Regions from separate parts of the Homo sapiens genome. Here all the other regions are linked to region 2. Evidence: promoter capture Hi-C in human tissues and cell types (Jung and others, 2019). All regions are on one chromosome and are shown on one strand. The core of a region is centred on a gene start or on the middle of the fragment in contact, and the rest is flanking DNA. Distances in the headings are between cores, read along the strand shown.

What was found. Contacts are between HindIII fragments. The study calls those that stand out against the background at their distance.
Region 1: a contact is called between the fragment with the promoter of TUBG2 here and the fragment with the promoter of ACLY in region 2, in 1 of the 25 tissues and cell types used here (spleen).
Region 3: a contact is called between a fragment that was not itself captured here and the fragment with the promoter of ACLY in region 2, in 1 of the 25 tissues and cell types used here (small bowel).

What each region holds. Positions count from the first base shown.
Region 1 is chr17:42,657,843-42,660,542 of GRCh38, forward strand. It overlaps TUBG2 (tubulin gamma 2), which reads left to right and starts at 1,442. Exons shown (of 11, transcript NM_016437.3): 1 at 1,442-1,710; 2 at 1,992-2,104; 3 at 2,307-2,474. The coding sequence starts at 1,662. RefSeq lists enhancers at 1,274-2,041, 1,399-1,458, 1,469-1,538, 1,589-1,658. The HindIII fragment of the contact is 23,957 bases long and covers 1-2,700 here.
Region 2 is chr17:41,917,543-41,920,242 of GRCh38, forward strand. It overlaps ACLY (ATP citrate lyase), which reads right to left and starts at 1,409. Exons shown (of 29, transcript NM_001096.3): 1 at 1,338-1,409. RefSeq lists silencers at 812-1,051, 1,532-1,791. The HindIII fragment of the contact is 39,518 bases long and covers 1-2,700 here.
Region 3 is chr17:42,431,754-42,434,453 of GRCh38, forward strand. All of the region lies in intron 2 of LOC102725238 (a long non-coding RNA gene), which reads left to right. Among named protein-coding and RNA genes, the nearest start is that of CAVIN1, 9.8 kb to the left of the region's middle. The HindIII fragment of the contact is 7,652 bases long and covers 1-2,700 here.

The DNA.
Region 1 (2,700 bases), core at 192-2,691, 740 kb after region 2:
GGAAAAAAAGCAGATGGGTCCTTTCAAAGTTACTTTTCTTGTAAAAGGACTTCCGTATCATGCCGGCTCACACTGGCTTGTTTGGGGTTTTGGCTCTTCCTTCCCTCTCCTGATTCCTCTGAAGGTTTGATAAACAACTTAGTGTTGCTTAGTGACATAGAACTTTAGCGTGAGTGACTCCATTTTGGTTTGGTCTGTTGAGCCAAGCACAGGAGCTCAGTGCAAATCAATGGCCTCCTATAAAATTTATTTAACTGAACCCTTGTGCATTGCTGGTGGGAATTTAAAATGGTGCAGCTACCATGGAAAATCGTATGGCGATTCCTCAGAACATTAAACACAATTACCATATGATCCAGCAATTCTACCTCTGGGTGTATATCCAAAATAATTGAAAGCAGGGACTCGAACAGATATTTGTACACTCACATTCAAAGCAGCAACATTCACAATAGCCAAAAGGTGGAAGCAACCCAAATGTCCATGGAGGGATGAATGGTTATGCAAAATGTGGTACATCTATACAATGGAATATTATTCAGTTGTAAAAAGGAAGGAAATTCTGACACATGCTACGAAATGGAAGGATCTTGAAGATATTATGTTAAGTGAAAGAAGCCAGACCCAAAAAGACAAATACTGTATAATTCCACTCATATCAGGTGCCTAGAGTAGTCAAGGGGAAGTTACTGTTTAATCGCGATAGAGTTTCAGTTTGGGAAGATAAGAAAGTTCTAGAAAAGAATGGTGGTGGTGGTTACAGAACAATGTGAGTGTACTTGGTGCCACAGAACTGTATGCAGTACTTACAAATGGTTACAATGGTAAATTTAGGCCAGGAGTGGTGGCTCATGCCTGTAATCCCAGCATTTTGGGAGGCCAAGGCAGGAGGATTGATTGAGGCCAGTAGTTTAAGACCATCTTGGGCAACACGGTGAGATCCCCATCTCTATAAAAATACATTTTAAAAATTTAAAAATTAGCTGGGCGTGGTAGCACACGCCTGTAGTCCCAGCTACTCGGGAGACTGAAGTGGGAGGATCACTTAAGCCAGAAGTTCAAGGCTACAGTGAGCTATGATCGCGCCACTGCACTCCAGCCTGGGCGACAGAGCGAGACCCTTCTAAAAAATAAAAAGGTAACATACATGTGTATGTATTGTAACACCATTAAAAAACAGAAATTTAAACGAAGAAAAGTTGGCTTCTAGCCCTTTGATCTAGCAAAGCTGACAGTGTCCTCACCTACCAATATAGGTAGATGACTCCTTACACGTGGACAAGCACATCCACCTGGCCGCTTCTCCCCTTTCCTCCCCTCCCCCGTTCCTCTCCTCCCCAACACATCCAGGTTCCGACCCTGCCACCCCCAACGAGTCTCACTGCGCAGGCGCGGAGCGGTGGGCAGGAGCGGGCGTGGCCTGACTCTGCGCCTGTGCGGAATTCCAGCTGCGACTGCTGAGGGAGAAAATGATGCCCAGGTTGGGCTCCCCGGCCCACCGGCCGAGGAGAGGCCTGCGCTGCACACGCGCAGACCGAGCATCCGCGTCAAGAGGCGAAGAGAGCGCGCGCTCCCCACGTCCTGCGCTCCTGGCTGCCGGGCATTCGTCTCAGCCGTGACTCTCGCCAGGCCGGGGCTGGCGCGCCCACGTCTGAAGAGCGATGCCCCGGGAGATCATCACCCTGCAGCTGGGCCAGTGCGGCAACCAGAGTGAGCAAGCGAGCGCCGGCCCCGCCGGTCTCTGGTTCTGCCCCTTCGGGTCCCACCCAAGTGCCTGGCTTCCACCAGTCCCCCTTTCCCTTCCATGAACCCCCTGCCCTGCTGCTCTGGATAACCCAGACCGAGAGCTGCGCCTCCAGCCCGGGGCTGGGGCAGCTACCAAACCCAGGCATCTTGGGTCCACCCTCTGATCGTGTCAGCCTCTGAGACTAAAACTGGGCTCCTCAGGCCTTAAGGCTCCAGCAGACCCGGGCATCTCCCCCCTCCCCCAGTTGGGTTCGAGTTCTGGAAACAGCTGTGCGCCGAGCATGGTATCAGCCCCGAGGGCATCGTGGAGGAATTCGCCACCGAGGGCACTGACCGCAAGGACGTCTTTTTCTACCAGGTGCCCCCAGCGACTTGGCCGGGGGCGGCAGTGGCCCAAGGGGGCGGAAGGGAAGGGAGTGGCCTGGTACTGGGAACCCCGCTGGGCAGTAGGGCCAGGCGGCTGGCTTGAGGAGGGAGGGCCGGAGGGAGCCAGAGTTGGGAGGACTTCGGACTTGGGCCGCCCTAGCTGATTGGGCCCCCTCCTGGACTCCCCTTGACAGGCAGACGATGAGCACTACATCCCCCGGGCCGTGCTGCTGGACTTGGAACCCCGGGTGATCCACTCCATCCTCAACTCCCCCTATGCCAAGCTCTACAACCCAGAGAACATCTACCTGTCGGAACATGGAGGAGGAGCTGGCAACAACTGGGCCAGCGGATTCTCCCAGGTGTCCTAGCGACCATTCCAGAGACCTTTGATATTCCCATCCAGAGGCAAGGCAGGCTCAAGCTACTAGGAATTTGACCTGACTGACAGAAAATAAGAGACAAAAGGATGTCCCGAACAAGAGGGACAGCCAGGGAGAGGTTTATGCAAATTTTGTGCAAATCATTTGCAATAGTAGCACTTCTGGGTTGAGGGCTACAGCCTAGGCTCTGCTTCAGGGTGGCAAC
Region 2 (2,700 bases), core at 159-2,658:
ACAGCCAGGGGAAGGGAATCACTGGGGATGCTACTAAGGGTGCCTCTGGGAAAGACAAAAACACTCATTTGAAGGTTAGTATCTGCAGGATTGGGACTTACGTATGTAGGTATTTATTTATTTATTTTTTGAGAAGACAGGCAATCCCTGGAGTAAATTCTAGAGAGGCAGAATTCTGTGAGTGCCCCTTACTGCGGCAGGCATAGTGTCAGAACGGGGATGGAGCCATAAGCTGTCCAGTGTCTGAGGGGTCTTCCCACTACCGCCCCCCAAGCTGTTTAGGAAGGTTTCTAAGAGGTGAAAATCACCCATCTGGGCAAATGAGACCTACCAGCTGTCCCTCACCCCACATTTTAGTTCAGCTGAGCCAGCTGAAAACACAGAGGAAAGTTAAGGGTGGAGAGGAGTAGGCTAGCTGGCCAAACTGTGCTGTGCACTTTTCCTTATCGTCTCTTCCAAAATCCTCTTCCCAGGAAGACCTCCAGGGACCCCATAACGGCAGAACTCGGCACTGCACGGTATCTGCCAAGGTTGGAGACCGCGGCAGGCGCTGGGACTGGCCCATTGCCAGGCTCGACAGGAGGGCGGCGGCAGCATCCTCCAGCCCCTTGAGGACCTTTCCCCGGCCAGACTTGGCGTCAGCTCAAGGGTGGGGTGGCACCCCGGCCATCTGTCACTTAGGGGCTGGACTCGACGATACCTCCAGTGCGAGGAGGGTCCTTGCTGCGAGATTCCAGTCCTCGCGGCGAGACGAGGCGAGGCCTCGGGCACCCTGGGGCAGCCTGGCCCCGCGTGGCCCGCCCCGGAGGCGCGCATAGCTCATTCTCTCCACTTGGGCGTGGAGCTCAATTTTGTACCCACGGAACCAAGAAGGGCCTGAGCCCGGCCAGTGAGGAATCGGAGTGGGACCAGTCGCCACCGCTTTCTCTACTTCCCGTCCCGGCATCCGATGGGGGAACCCGGATGGAGCCAAAAGGCGTCCCGATGAGCCCGAGGAGCCTCGATAGCTGTGCCCGGGAGGGGTGAGGCGCGCCAGGAGGGGGACCATGCAATGTGGCAGAGGCAGAAGAGGCAAGGATGGCGGCAAGCCCCATGCAAACTCCCAGGAACTGGAATATGTGTGTGTCGCGCGGGGGGAGGGGAGGGGCGTCGACACGCGGCCACCGGCCGGGACCCCGGGCGAAGGCTAACCTAAAGCTAAGACCCTCAAAACTTCCGAGCAGGGCGCGTGGGCACCGAGCCCGCGTCGGGGAAGGCGGTTCCGGGTTGGGGGACGGAGGCAGGAAGCTCCTAGGGCGAGCGGGCTCCAGCCAGCGAAAACAGCCTCCCGTGCTCACCTCTGCCGAAGTCCGTGCGCGGCGCTTCTTCCACAGGCCCGACGAACCCCGCAAAATCCGGAGCACCCCAGCAGCCGGTAGCTTCCCGGGATCCGGCTTTTGTCCCGGCCCAGCCGGACTTTTCCCCGCCCCCATCGGCTCGCGGCGAGAACGGCCCCGCGATTGGCCACACGCGTTCCCTAGCCTGAGCGCCAGGGCTCCTCCCAATTCGCTGCTGGCTTGGCTCCGCCCCACGAGGGCGGGCCCCGGGGCCTGCTGGGACTTGTAGTCCCGCTGGCCCATCCACCGCCTCTTGGGAGCCTGCGGGGCCGGGGCGGGGCCCCGGGTGGGGAGATGGGCCGGGCTAGGCTGGGAGGAGAACGCGCGGTGCTGGGGGTTGTGGCCTGATCGCTTGAGGGGCTGGACAGATTGCCACTCGGGGAGTTGGGGGAGGGGCGGGTAGGATTAGCCCAACTGGCTGTAACGCAGCTTTGGGACCTGGAGTACCCTTGCTCCTTCCCTTGGGAGAAACGGACGTCTGCATCTCGGCCGCACCGAATCCGATTGCTTAGACAGTCTCCTTAAGCAGCAGTGTCTGGCAGGCCGCTTTCCTTTAGCACGTGGAGCCTCTCTCCTCCCTGGACTCTCCCCACTGGGCCGATGAGGCAAGGCTGAGCCGAGGCTAACAGAGCATACTTCCCAGTGTGGGATAAGGCAGGGGCCGCGGTAAGCAAGTGGGGCTAGGAGGGTGCAGGCACAGCGCTGTCCGTCCCACTCACCTGCTCGCCTCAGCACGGATCAGGGCGGAGCTAGGAATTCAATGCGAGATTCCAGCGAAGGGCTGGAGCCATCCCAGACAGTCTCTTGTTCCCACCAACCACAGGCTTAGACACTGGAATGAATGAACTGCTGTCTCCCCCTTCTCCATTACCTGAGACAGATCGAATTTTCCAAACCAAAAACTGGGACATCCAATCTGACAGGTGCTGGTGAACTTGTGGGGCAGAATATGTGAAATCAGTCCTGGAAATCAGGACATGTATTTACCACTCTGACATGCTGCAGCCTCCCTCCCTACCTGCACCCCAACCCTGTAGGTCCGGAGCTGCTCCCTAAGCCTAACAGCTGTCTAGCTCCAGGAAGGAGGCCAAAAGCGTCCACTGACCGACTCAGGTGAAGAGGTCAGCCCAGAATGCAGGGAAGCAGCAGGCCTGTCCCCCTGCCAAGCACTTTGGGTCATACTCACACTGCAACAGTGTTGCGACATTTGCAGACAAAATCTTCTCCAAGACCCCCTCCCCCAATCCTGTTGCTGCCAGGAGTAAGGTAACTGAACTTGCTACCCATGCCTGAATCAAGTGTTCCCTGATGATGTCACTTTCTG
Region 3 (2,700 bases), core at 1-2,500, 510 kb after region 2:
TATTCACAATGTTGTGCAAGAATCAACTTTCATCAGCCCCCAGAAAGCCCCCGACAAAGAAAAAACACTAAAGGGAGACTTTATCCTAAAGAATGTTTGCAAGGAGGGGAAAAAGACTGTTGCAATACGGGGAGGGAGTCTATTGCAATAGGGAGAAGGATCGGCCCATAGTTCTGCAAATGTCTTAAGGGCCAGACCTTTTTCCTTTTATAGAGAGGAGTAAACAAAGCTAGAAAGAACCAGGTGTAGAGAATAGGAGGAAAGTGGCCTGATGAGAGAATAGATCAGAGAATGTTTTACCCTGAGGTCAGGCTATCCTCAGGAGGGGTTGTGTGCTGGCTCAGGCCCAGTGAGGGTGGGCCAGAGTTCAGGGCCTGGAGGAAGAAGAAAAGCTTAAACAAAATGTGTTATTTTTTTTTTTTGAAACGGAGTTTCGCTCTTGTTGTCCAGGTTGGAGTGCACTGGCGCTATCTTGGCTCATAGCAACCTCCGCCTCCCAGGTTTAAGAGATTCTCCTGCCTCAGCCTCCCGAGTAGCTGGGATTACAGGCATGCGCCACCATGCCCGGCTAATTTTTTGTATTTTTAGTAGAGACAGGGTTTCTCCATGTTGGTCAGCCTGGTCTCGAAGTCCCAACTTCAGATTACAGGCTTAAGCCACCGAGCCCAGCCTTTTATTTATTTATTTATTTTTGAGACGGAGTCTCACTCTGTCACCCAGGCTGGAGTACAATGGCGTGATCTCGGCTCACTGCAACCTCCGCCTCCCGGGTTCAAGTGATTCTCCCACCTCAGCCTCCTGAGTAACTGGGATTACAGACACACGCCATCATGCCCGGCTAATTTTTGTATTTTTGTAGAAACGGGTTTCACTATGTTGGCCAGGCTGGCCTTGAACTCCTGACCTCAGGTGATCTGCCCACCTTGGCCTCCCAAAGTGCTGAGATTACAGGTGTGAGCCACCACGCTGAACCAACAAAATTTGTTTAATGAGCATTTTGTTCATCGTGATCAGTGTTGGGAAAACCAGTTTAGCTGGTCATTCATGAGGCAGAGAATAAGAATTTGAAGTTCTGTGTCTGTTCCTGTCACAGGTAAACAATGGGGGGCATCTGCGAGTCACATGGGGAAGGGTGGTTCTTGGCAGTAAACAAAAACATAGGGGATTCCTTTAACCTTGGATGTTTTCCAAGAGCACAGGGCTCAGGTGAAATTCACCACTGTTACCTCATACCCATTAGCTGTCACTCCCCACTCCTCTCTTCCCTGTCCCCTAGCAACCAGTAAGTTTTAAGTCTCTATAGATTTTCCTGTTCTGAACACTTCATATGAATGGAATCATACAATTTGTAGCCTTTTGTGTCTCGCTTCTTTTACTTAGCATGTTTTCAAGGTTGATCTATGTTGTAGCATGTATCAATACTTCATTCCTCTTTATGGCTATATTCCGTTGTATAAATATGCCCCATGCTGTTTATCCATTCATCAGCTGATGGACGTTTGAGTTGTTTCCATTTTTTTGTTTTTTTAAGAGACAGTCTCCCTGTTGCCCAAGCTGGTGTGCAATGGCACAATCATGGCTCACTGCAACCTCAAACTACTGGTCTCTAGCCATCCTCCTTCCTCAGCCTCCCAAGTAGCTTGGACTACTGGTCACAACAGGCTAATTTTTTTTTTAGACGGAGTCTTGCTCTGTCACCCAGGCTGGAATACAGTGGCACAATCTCGGCTCACTGCAACCTCTGCCCCCTGGGTTCAAGCAATTCTCCTGCTTAAGCCTCCCGAGTAGCTGGGATTACAGGTGCGCATGACCACGTCTGGCTAATTTTTGTATTTTTAGTAGAGACGGGGTTTCACCATGTTGGTCAGGCTGGTCTCGAACTCCTGACCTCATAATCCACCCACCTCAGCCTTCCAAAGTGCTGGGATTACAGGCGTGAGCCACCATGCCCCGCCTAAACCAAATATCTTTCCTCAAAAGCTAGAATGCTTCTTGGCTTATTTCTGTTGATGGTGGGACCGTCCTATCAAACACCAGAGACTCCAACCTTAGAATTATATTTATCTCCTCTCTTTCTCTCATCTACTAAAGCAAATGAAATCCCAGATCCTGCCTTCCTTCCTTCATTATCACTCCCCTGTAATTCCCATTTCTGTGACTGTCTGTCTGATCCTGTTGTTACCAGCTGATGGCTGTTACTGTACTTTCCTAGTTTGTCTCTGTGTCTCCAACCTTTTCCTTCCAATTCATAATGCATTTTAGAATGAAAATTGATTTGAAAAACTGTAAATGATAGTTTGGAAGGTGCTGGGACTAGAAAAAAGGAGATCTAACAGGAGACTACTGCAATAGTCCCAGCAGGGGAAGATGATCATTTGAACTAGAGCATTACGGGGCACAGAGAGAGGACTGATGGGTGAGCACTATAGCATGAAAACCATTAGGGCTTGATGAATGAGTACATGTAGATACTGAAGGAGAAGGAGGAGTCTAAAATATTACAATTTTGGCTGGGTGCAGTGGCTCACGCCTGTAATTCCAGCACTTTGGGAGGCCAAGGCAGGCGGATCATTTGAGGTCAGGAGTTCAAGATCACCCTGGCCAACATGGTGAAACCCTGTCTCTACCAAAAAATACAAAAACTAGCCGGGTGTGGTGGCGCATGCCTGTAGTCCCAGCTACTTGGGAGGCTGAGGCAGG